2 separate regions of the Homo sapiens genome follow, and region 1 is linked to region 2. The links are contacts of gene promoters, found by promoter capture Hi-C in blood cells and fetal thymus (Javierre and others, 2016). All regions are on one chromosome and are shown on one strand. Each heading gives the region's core, a stretch centred on a gene start or on the middle of the fragment in contact. The rest is flanking DNA. Distances are from core to core; before and after follow the strand shown. Region 1 holds the start of HAPSTR1 (HUWE1 associated protein modifying stress responses). Region 2 holds the start of BFAR (bifunctional apoptosis regulator).

Evidence for each region. Contacts are between HindIII fragments. The CHiCAGO score rates a contact against its expected background, and 5 or more counts as called.
Region 1: a contact is called between the fragment with the promoter of HAPSTR1 here and the fragment with the promoter of BFAR in region 2, in 1 of 17 cell types (fetal thymus). The highest score is 5.5, in fetal thymus.

The regions. Positions count from the first base shown.
Region 1 is chr16:9,088,121-9,093,501 of GRCh38, forward strand. It overlaps HAPSTR1 (HUWE1 associated protein modifying stress responses), which reads left to right and starts at 3,524. Exons shown (of 4, transcript NM_014117.3): 1 at 3,524-4,150; 2 at 4,801-4,881. The coding sequence starts at 3,925. RefSeq lists enhancers at 1,689-2,554, 4,824-4,993 and silencers at 2,465-2,595, 3,384-3,453, 3,624-3,963, 4,174-4,673. The HindIII fragment of the contact is 14,700 bases long and covers 1-5,381 here.
Region 2 is chr16:14,629,485-14,634,509 of GRCh38, forward strand. It overlaps BFAR (bifunctional apoptosis regulator), which reads left to right and starts at 3,467. Exons shown (of 8, transcript NM_016561.3): 1 at 3,467-3,534. PARN (poly(A)-specific ribonuclease) reads right to left here and starts at 776. Exons shown (of 24, transcript NM_002582.4): 1 at 623-776; 2 at 113-190. The coding sequence starts at 641. RefSeq lists enhancers at 1-267, 268-789, 790-1,312, 2,912-3,479, 3,480-4,049. The HindIII fragment of the contact is 17,820 bases long and covers 3,163-5,025 here.

The DNA of each region.
Region 1 (5,381 bases), core at 2,274-4,773, 5.5 Mb before region 2:
AATAAGCATTTGTATAATAGCTCAAGTGCTCTAAGACTATCAATTCAGAATTCAGAAACTTTTCGAGGTGGGTTGGGTGCAGTAGTTCACACCTATAATTCCAGCACTTTGGGAGGCTGAGGCAGGAGGATTGCTTGAGTCCAGGAGTTGGAAACCAGCCTGGGCAACACTGCAAAACCCCATCTTTACAAAAAATACATTTAGCCAGGCATGGTAGCATGTGCCTGTAGTCCCAGCTACCTGGGAGGCTGAGGTGGGAGAACTGCTTAAGCCCAAGAATTGGAGACCAATCTGGGCAACATTGCAAAACTATCTCTACAAAAAACACAAAAAATTATCTGGGCATGCTGGTGCACACCTCTGATCCCAGCTACTAGGAAGGCTGAGGCAGGAGAATGGCTTGTACCCAGGAGGCAGAAGTTGCAGTGAGCTGAGATCACGCCACTGCACTCCAGCCTGGGCGACAGAGCGAGATTTCGTCTCGAAACAACAACAAAAAAGAAACTCTTAGAGGTTAACACAAAGCTCAGGGTCATGGAAATCAAGCAGATAGGTGGTGCTTTTCAATATTTATTCCTTTTTCTTTAGACTGTTTTTTCCAACTGACAAATATTTATTATAGAGCCAGCGTTTATGCTATTCAATATCATTCCATCTTGTATGTATGGCTGAAATATTATGTTCTTACAAGAAAAGGCCAGAGGCTTCTGGAACAGGGTCTGAGTTACATGAAGGAGAAGAAGAGCAGCCTTCATTCTGTAAAAACTCGAAACCTTTGGACTGTCCAAAGTGGTGTGTGGCTTTTGAAGCGGAGCCTGCAGGCAGCGAAATCGTCCAGCTGTGTTCTCTCCTTTGTCATACCTACATGTGCAGGCCTGGACTTCCCACGTGCTACCATGAATGCAGAAATGTAGAAATTGACATATCAACAACCATTGATCGTACACTCAGCAGGCAGTTTTATTGATTGATTGATTGATTGAGATGGGGTCTCTGTCACCCAGGCTGGAGTGTAGTGGCACTATCTCGGCTCACTGCAACCTATGCCTTCTGGGCTCAAGCAATCCTCCCGCCTCAGCCTCCTGAGTAGCTGGAACTACACGTGTGTGCCGCCATGCCTGGCTGTGTTTTGTATTTTTTTGTAGAGACTGGGTTTCACTATGTCGCCTAGGCTGGTCTTGAACTCTTGAGTTCAAGCAATCCTTGCGTCTTGGCCTCCTAAATTGTTGAGATTATAGGTGTAAGCTACCATGCCTACCCTCCTAAAATATTTAACTCATATACCTTGTGACTCTAAAATACTATTTCTGAGGATATATATTCAATACACATATGTATATATGCAAGGATGTTCACTGTATTACATATGTACAAGATGTTCATTATGGCATTGTTTATAATAGCCAAAGACTGGTCACAATCTAAATTTGTATCAATAGGGGCCCTGTAAAATACTTTGTAGTGAATCCATACAATGAAATTATTTGCAATATTTTAAAAGAATAAATAAGTCTTTAGGTCCCAATGTGGAGACATCCAAATTATGTTAAGGAAAAAAGGCTTGTAGGATAGTACACATAAAATCATCTTTTTTTTTCCTTAAGAAGGGACATACTTGTATATAGGTACACACACACATACACACTCGACGTACACATAACTCCGTTTTCAAAGGTCACAAGTTATTTCCTGGGAATAGGATTGGGAGGATGTAGAATGAGGTAGGTAGAATGATTTTTGTTTGCTTTTCACTTTATATTCTTCCCTACAATTGGAAACCTGTTTTTTAGCCACCGCGCCAGGCCTAATTTAGCATTTTAGATAGTGATTGATGTTATGAAATAATATAACCAGGCAATACGAGACAGTGTGAAGGGTGCTACTTTAGGCTTGTCCTAGTAGGCTTCCTAAACAGGAGCTATCTGAGGAAAGAGGAGGAGGAAGAGCTTCCAGAGATAGCAGACTGGGGCAGGAAAGAGCCTAGTGTCCCAGGGAAATAAGGCAGGCCAGTGTGTGAGCGTCCAGGCGAGGTGGGGAAGAGGGGGAGTGCGCAAGGTACAAGCCAAGTAGGGGATTGTGTGAGAGGCGCCAGGGCCAGATCCTGCAGGGGTTTGCAGGCCGCGGTGAGGGGGTCAGATTTTCTTCCAAAGCCGCCTTGCTCTGTGCAAGCGCACTATCGCAGGCTGCGGGCGACGCTGCCTCTGGCCGGCGCCCTCCGCCGCTCCAGGCCGGATGGTGCCTCCCGTGGGCATGTAGGTGGGGATGGTGGGTTTTGCCTCTGTGCGGTCACCGCCTGTCTGCGTTGCTGCCTTCTCCGGGGCCTCAGACCCTGGAGAAAGCCCCGACAGGGGAGGGGGGCGCGCAGCCGCAGGGGCGTCCAGCTATCGCGCACTGCGGGGGGAGTAGGGGCGGGCGCAGCGCTCGGCACCGCCACGCGGGTTCGGGCCGGGGAAGGCAGGGGCCGGTACGTGACGCGGGGCATGCACGTGGCCTGGGAGTGTGCTTTTCGGGACAGGTGCGGGGGCCGCCGCGCGCGCAAAGGCGCAGACGCACGCGTGCGGGCACCGGGCACCGTCGGCCGTCGGGTTATCCTTGGCTCCGCGGGCGGCCGCCGAGGTCCTGTCCACCCGGAAGGCGCGACGTCCTCGGGGGACGCCAGGGCGCAGGGGCAACTGAGCCGACTTCGCAACTCGGAAGTTTTTCTTTGGCTGTGATGGTCGATTTGCCCGTCTAAGAAATGGGACTCTGGGCCGGGCGCGGTGGCTCAAGCCTGTAATCCCAGCGCCCTGGGAGGCTGGAAGATCGCCTGAGGCCAGCAGTCTAGACCTCGACAACGTAGCAAGACCCCGTCTCAAAAAAAAAAAAAAAAAAGGGGGAGTACTCAAAAGAATAGGAAAGCGCTTTGCAAACTTGGACACGAGTTGGGCGTTTTATTCACTTTCTCTACTACCCTCCTCCCTTTGGGAGCCCCAGGGGCTGGAGTAAGCACGCTACCACCCACTATACCTCTCAGTGCCCGCGGCACAGGAGCCGCACTCGACTTTGCATCCCCCCAGGGCCTGTACACGCCGGAAAAGCTCCCGCGGGGTGCGGTCGCTGGGCCTCGTCACGTGATCCCCACTCAACGCCCCTGAGCGGGGGGGGGAGCAGCGAGCAAGTGCGCATGCGCATCCCTTCTAGCTCTTCCCCTCCACCCCCCACCCGCCCCCTTGGCTCGGACGCAACCACTGTCAGCTCCTCCCCCTCCTCCTCCTTCATCCTTCCTGACATTCACTCCCTTCCCCCAGCCAATTGGTTACGTCAGGCAGACAGGCCGAAGAACCAATCACGACGCTGTGCTCAGAAGCCGCCACGCGGAACCGGCCGGATCCGACTAATAGGGGCCCTTGGAGCGGCCACGCCTCAACCGGGCAGGGTAGCTTGGGCCCAGTGGGCGGTGCTTCTCCTGTCAGCATGTGGGCGGGGTAGGGCGGGGACCAGCAGCCGCAGAGCCGTCCTCGGCGGTGGCGACGACGACGACGTTGCTCAGTCTTGGGGTGGGCTCCGCGGTGCAGGCCGAGCTGCGCGGAGGGCTCGGCGATCAGCGGCGGCGGCGGCAGTGGGGAGGCCGCAGCGCCATGGGGGGGCGTTAGACAGGCTGCGGCGGCCGAGGCGAGGGGCGGCAGCGGTTATCTGGTCCGCGGCGACCTTCGGCCGGGCCCGGGGGTGGGAAGGCCTGGGGCGGGGGTCGTCCCTGGTTGCACGGGGCCGCGGGGCGGGGCTCGCCGGCCGTCGGGGTGCAGGAGGCCTGGGCCGCTGAAAGGAGAAGGCGCCGTCGGTCGCCAGGCCCTGCCGCCGGGCCGCTTGACGACGACGCTCCCGCGGGGGCCCCGCCTGAGGAGGACGCGGCGGCGGTGGCGGCGAGGCCGCGGGAGGCCGCGGAGGATGGAGGAGCGGAAGGAGGAGGGCGAGGCCGAGATCCAGGAGCACGGGCCCGAGCACTGGTTCTCCAAGTGGGAGCGGCAGTGCCTGGCCGAGGCCGAACAGGACGAGCAGCTGCCCCCCGAGCTGCAGGAGGAGGCGGCGGCCGCCGCGCAGCCCGAGCACAAGCAGCAGAAGCTGTGGCACCTCTTCCAGAACTCGGCCACCGCCGTGGCCCAGCTCTACAAAGGTGAGGCCGCCGCCGCCATCTTGGTACCGCTTGGCCGCCCCCGCCCGGGCCCGGCCCCGGCCCTATCGGCTCAGCGGCCGCTTCGGGGGGCCGCGACGGCGGCGGCCTCGGGGATCCCGGCCGGTGGCTCCGCGGCCCTGCCGCCCCCTCCCCGCAAGATGGCGCCGCGGGAGGGAGGCCCGGGGTTGGGGGGACAGGCCAGAGCCGGCGTGGGGGTAGCCCCGCTTTGGGGTGGTCCGAGGGTCCCCGCTCTCCGGGCCCGGCCACCCGGTGTCCCCCTCGGCCCGGAGACGGGAGAGGAGGAGCCCCCGTCACAAAATGGCGAAGGGAGACGGCGGGGCGGCCCCATTGTGCCCTGAGCCGGCCTCGGGGCGGGGACTGCCAGGGGGGGCGCTTCCCTGCGCCGCGGCTCGTCCCTGATCTGTGCCCCTGAGCTCTGCGGCATCCCCTTTTCCCCGCCGCGACCTCCCTGCCCCCCCGGTCCTCACACTGGGTTTGGGATCCCGAAACCCCTGAACAAAATGGCGAAACCTAATATGGCCGTTCCGGAGTGATTGACGCGCAAATAACATTCTTGTTCTCTTTCTTTCTCTTTCTATGTGTGTTTCTTTTTTCTTTTTGGTTTTTTTTTTTTTTGGCTTGCTTTTCAGACCGAGTGTGTCAGCAGCCAGGACTTTCTCTCTGGGTCCCCTTCCAAAACGCAGCCACCGCCGTCACCAATCTCTACAAAGGTAAAGATAACCTTGCTGCATTGCCGATTCAGGGAAGGGCCGCCTGCGTCAGGGTGTCTGCCCTGCGTTCCAAGTGTGTTTTCTGCTCCCCAGCCCAGCTGCTAACCTTGAATACCTTGCAACTTGAGAATCGCGGCGGTGCTCTAGCTAGATCCACCGGAGGCGATTTTGACACCTCCCTCCGCCCCCCGGGACAGATGGCAACGCCTGGGGACGTTTTTGGTTGGCTTCTCCTAGAAGGGGCTGTTGTTGGGCACCCAGTGTATAGAGGCTGCTGAAGGTCCTGCAGTGCCCAAGATAACCGCCCCGGCCCCCTCTCAGCGAAGAATTATCATGCCCCTAAAGTCAGTAGTGCTCAGGTTGAGAAGCGTTGAGCTGGAAGACGGCTGAGCCTTGCCTCCCTCTGGAAAAGACATTGAGGGAAGATAAGAGTTGATGTTTTTTGTACTACAGTCGGAAGTGGGACGAACTTTATGGAAAAGATTCTTGAGTTAGGCATT
Region 2 (5,025 bases), core at 2,217-4,716:
CTACTAACAGCAAGAGGCCACCACCAAGCATAAGAAGTTGGGGGCTGGGGGATTGAAGGAGCCTTGGCTATGCACTGCAAAGTGCTAGCCTGAGCTTGCAAGGGAGGGATACCTGAAAACTCCCCATCGATGGCGAAGAAGTCGGCCTCCTCTATGGCCTGGTACACTTTGTGAAGATTACTCTTAAAATCTGCGGAGAAACCGAAAAGAGGCTCAGAACCAGTGGCCTGAATTCCTGCTAAGGGGAGAGGGAAGGAGGGCCGAGGAGCTCCCGAGGCTGAGAGCCGGAAGGGGAAAAGTCCCGGAGGTGTGCACCGGGGCGAGGGGAATCAAGTCCTCGAGGGGTGCATGGGTCAGGGGGGACAAGCCCCGGGGGGTGCCCGGCCCGGAGAAGGACAAGGCCCCGGATGGTGCCGGGGTTGGAGGAGTAAGTACAAGGCTCCTAGGGTGCACGGTCCGCAGCCGGAAAAGACCCCAAGAGGCGCACCGGCTTAAGGAGGGAAAAGCCCTGAGGGGCTGCCTCAGCCCCAGGCCCAGCCAAACACGCCGGCCATGGTCTCGGCCTAGCAGGCCAGGGGCAGCCGGGTGTGGGGAGGCGGGGAGGTGTACGGCGGACACGCACTGCTCCTGATTATCTCCATTCTGCAGAGTGGCCGGAACCTTGGCCCCACCCGGGCCCGCGCCCGCCTCAGCGGTTCTACTCGCCGAATTCCGCGGCGACTGCGGCAGTAGCTGAGGCAGCCGCAGCGGTGACGCCGGCCGCGACTTCCGGAAACAGCGCGCGCCTGCTGCGCTTGCGTCAGCGCCTGCGCGGCGGCGGGGGCGGGGCCAAGGCTGGGCTCCTTTCCCTCCTTATAGGGACAGGGGAGGGGCGTGGCTATCGAAGTCCCCAAGGCGTGGCCTAATTTGTGCGGGCTTTCACTTCAGTAGAAAAAATGTGCATGTCTCGACATCCAGTCGACCAGGAAATACTGACTGGGTTTCTGTGATATGCTAGCCACTCTTACAGGGGTGGAGATACAGTGATGAACAGGAAGACGTGCTCCCTGCCCCATTGTAGCTTAAACTTGGGGTAAGGGGAAATTCAGGCAGGAGTGAAACTTGCCATTTGGTAACACATGAAAATCGCTATTAAGAAAAAGAGCGGGGCGATGTAATAGAGAATAATGGGATCCGGGTGCGGTGGCTCACGCCTGTAAGCCTAACACTTTGGGAACCCGAGGCGGGAGGATCCGTTGAACTGAAGAGTTCGAGACCAGCCTGGACAGCATAGTGAGACCTGTCTCTTAAAAAAATAAAATTAGGCCGGACCCGGTGGCTTATGCCTGTAATCCCAGCACTTTGGAAGGCCGAGGCGGGCGGATCACGAGATCAGGAGTTCGAGACCAGCCTGGCCAACATAGTGAAACCCTGTCTCTACTAAAAATATAAAAATTGGCTGGGCTTGGTGACTCATGCCTGTAATCCTAGCGATTTGGGAGGCAGAAGCGGGCGGATTACCTGAGGTCAGAAGTTCAAGAGCAGCCTGGCCAACATGGTGAAACCCTGTCTCTATTAAAAATACAAAAAATTAGCCGGGTGCAGTGGTGCGCGCCTGTAATCCCAGCTATTCGGGAAGCTGAGGCAGGAGAATCTCTTGAACCTGGGAGGCGGAGGTTGCTGTGAACCGAGATCACGCCACTGCACTCCAGCCTGGGTGACAGAACGAGACTTGTTTTCAAAAAAAAAATTAAATTAAATTAAAAGAATAATAGGGGTTGTTACTTAGGTGATCACGGAAAGCAAAGCTGAGACCCTTAGCTACTGCATTAGCCTCTGGGAATACTATGTCGAGTGCAACATATGAGGCCCGGCCCTAATGGAATTGTATGTTGGTTTGGGGTTGCTGTTCTCCAATGCCTAGCACTGGGCTGACACGTAGTAGACACTCAATAAGCATGGGTTGAATGAATACATTCAGGTTGGTCTTTCACAAAAGCCAACTATGAAAAGTTGGTTAGTGCCGGATGCGATGGCTCACGCCTGTGATCCTGGCACTTTGGGAGGCCGAGGCAGGCGGATTGCTTGAGGCCAGGAGCTCGAGACCAGCCTGGGCAACACGGTGAAACCCCATCTCTACTAAAATACAAAGAATTAGCCTGGCGTGGTGGCGCACCCCTGTAGTCCCAGCTACTCGGGAGGCTGAGGCAGGAGAACTGCTTGAACCCGGGAGGCGGAGGTTGCAGTGAGCCAAGATTGTGCCACTGCACTCCAACCTGGGCGACAGAGCGAGACTCCGTCTCCAAAACAAACAAACGAACAAAAGGAAAGTTGATTAGAAGACCTATTTTCAAAATCTATCTCAGCCACTTATTAGTTCTGGAATGCATTAAACCTTCCTAAACCTCAATTTCCTGGGATTGTATTGAGGCTCAGTGGTGCTAATGAATGTGAACTGGGAAGCAGCGTATTAATAAATCTGTATAAATAACTGTTTAATGGGGGCCTGGCGCCATGACTCACACCTGTAATCCCAGCGTTTTCGGGGGCTGAGGCAGGAGAATCGCCTGAACCCAGGAGTTCCAGACCAGCCTGGGGAAAAGAGCGAGACCCTGTCTCCATAAAAATAAAATGAAATTTTAAAATGAGCCAGGCGTGGTTGTGCACGCCCGTAGTCCCAACTATTCACGAGGCTGAGGTGGGATAATCGCTTGAACCCGGGAGGCGGAGGTTGCAGTGAGCCAAGATCGTGCCACTGTACGCCAGCCTGGCGGGTGAGAGTGAGACTCTGTCTCAAAAACAAACAACAACAACAAAACAAAACCAAATAATCAGCATAAGTTCTAGACGCTGTGACCTAGACGCTGGGAAGGGGCGAAACGTGGTGATAAGAAAACCATTTCAAGCTGTACGAGGTGGCTCACGCCTGTAATCGCAGCACTTTGTAAGGCTGAGGCAGGAGGATCCCTTGACGCCATATGTTCAAGATCAGCCTGGAAAACGCAGCGAGACCCCATCTCTACGAAAAAAAAAATATTTTAATAGAAATAAAAGTCATTTAATTCCGATTCTTAACACCGTAAATTGAACGTATAGTCCTGTGATTTTCTACATAAAATGTGAAGGCAAAAAATAACTGTAGAGAGTACGGTGCGGCCTTGTAATATTTTAATTTCTAGGCAAAGCTTGTATCCTCCGGATACAAGAACAGCCGCCCAGGAGGAGCGGAAACTGACACACACCCGTCACCCCTTGGGCTGTGACTGCCGAGCCCGGGTACTCGGTCTCTGGGTGAAGAGGAAGGGGCGGGACCGGCGGTATTACGCATGCGCCCACTTCCTCCGGCTGGGAGTGGCCGCTCTAGGCAGCGGGGAGGTCGCGGGGTTGAGGGGGGTTGTGAAAGGAGAGCGGCCTCTCCTCTATGGTCACGGGGCCGGGGCACGCTTCCCCCACTCTGTCTTGTTACTTCCGGTAGCGAAGCCTCTCCCTCTTCCTCTGCTCCCGCGGGGTCTGTGCTGAGAATAATGGCCCGGTTGGCCCGGGACGAGTGGAATGGTAAGCCGCGACACGGCTGGGGGGTGCTGAGGGGGCGACTCGGGCTTGATATCGGGGAGTGATGTGGAAGACGGAGCGGGAATCCCTTCTGCGGAGCCTCCCCAGCCGGGTCGTAGGAGGCGCGCGGGGCCTCTCCTCACGCAGGCCCGAGTCCTGAGCATCCCCACTCCTGGCCGCGGGGTTCGGACCCCAGCTTGGCCAACTGCGCTATCCCTTCCCGAGAGCCCCACGTCCGCACAGCCGGTCGCTGGGCCTCGCCTGCGTCCTTTCGGGGGTCAGGGTCAGAGCCACTCCCTCCTGGGGCTCCCTAGGGCGGGAAGGAGGAGGGGTCGCTTCCAAACACCTTGGAGGGGAACCACGGGGCGCCTGCCCGCCAGGAGCGCTTGCCACACCCTGCAACAGCCGGACCAGAATTGATGAGGCTTCTGATAGTCGCCACGCTGAGTTTACGGTCTAATTGTCGAGGCACGTTCCTGGCCTAAGGCGGAGCGATTGTGCCCATTCTTTAAAGTAGGGTGACCGAAGCGCAGAAGGGAGAAAGTGAAATCCCAAAGTCACACTGGGGCCAGGCAAGAACTCGGCTCTTCTGATTCTGCGACTTGCGGCTCGGAAATAACTTAGGCAAAAGAGAATTTTCTTTTTTTTCTTTTTAGAGACGGAGTCTTGCCCTGCCGCCCAGGCTGGAGTGCGGTGGAGCAATCTCGGCTCACTGCAACCTCCGCCTCCCAGGTTCAAGCGATTCTCTTGCCTCAGCCTTCTGAGTAGCTGGGATTACGGGCCCGCGTAACCACGCCCGGCTGATTTTTGTATTTTTAGTAGAGACGGGGTTTCACCATGTTGGTCAGACTGTTCTCGAACTCCTGGCCTCAAGTGACCCACTCGCCTCGGCCTCCCAAAGTGGGGAGATTACAGGCGTGAGCCACCGCGCCCGGCCGAGAATTGTCTTTTATTAAAAAAGCCGGCGGGAGGGGGCGACAGATGAGAGTCAGGTTGTGTCTAAACGGGGACCTTTGGAGGGGCAGGAGGCAGCATCCCAGCTTCCGCGGAAAACAGAGTGAGAGCCTAGACGCTGTTAAGCCCTCAACTGTCGCCATTGGGTCCTCCCCGCCGAAGCCCATTGGTCGGTCCTTTGCAAGGGGGGTGGTCTTGATGTCATGCTCCAAATCGCCAATAGGAAAGAGCTTTACTCTCTTCCCAGGACACACCCCCGAGCCGGCAGGGACTGCACGTGCTGATGGGGTTGTTTTGTTTGTTCTTGTCGCTGCTGTTTTCTCAACATCCAGCCTGGGTGTATCCTGACAGGTGTGCTCTGCATTTCCCTATATCCATAAACTTGATGGAGACATTGTATTTCTCCAGGGCAGTTCTTTTTGTTTGCTTTTTGGTTCCAGCGTTTGGCAGTGCCACTAAGTAGGTAGCCATCACTCAATAAATGCTGCTATTGATAATTCTGTTAATAATGCCGATCAGCCCCACACAGCAAACTTTGAG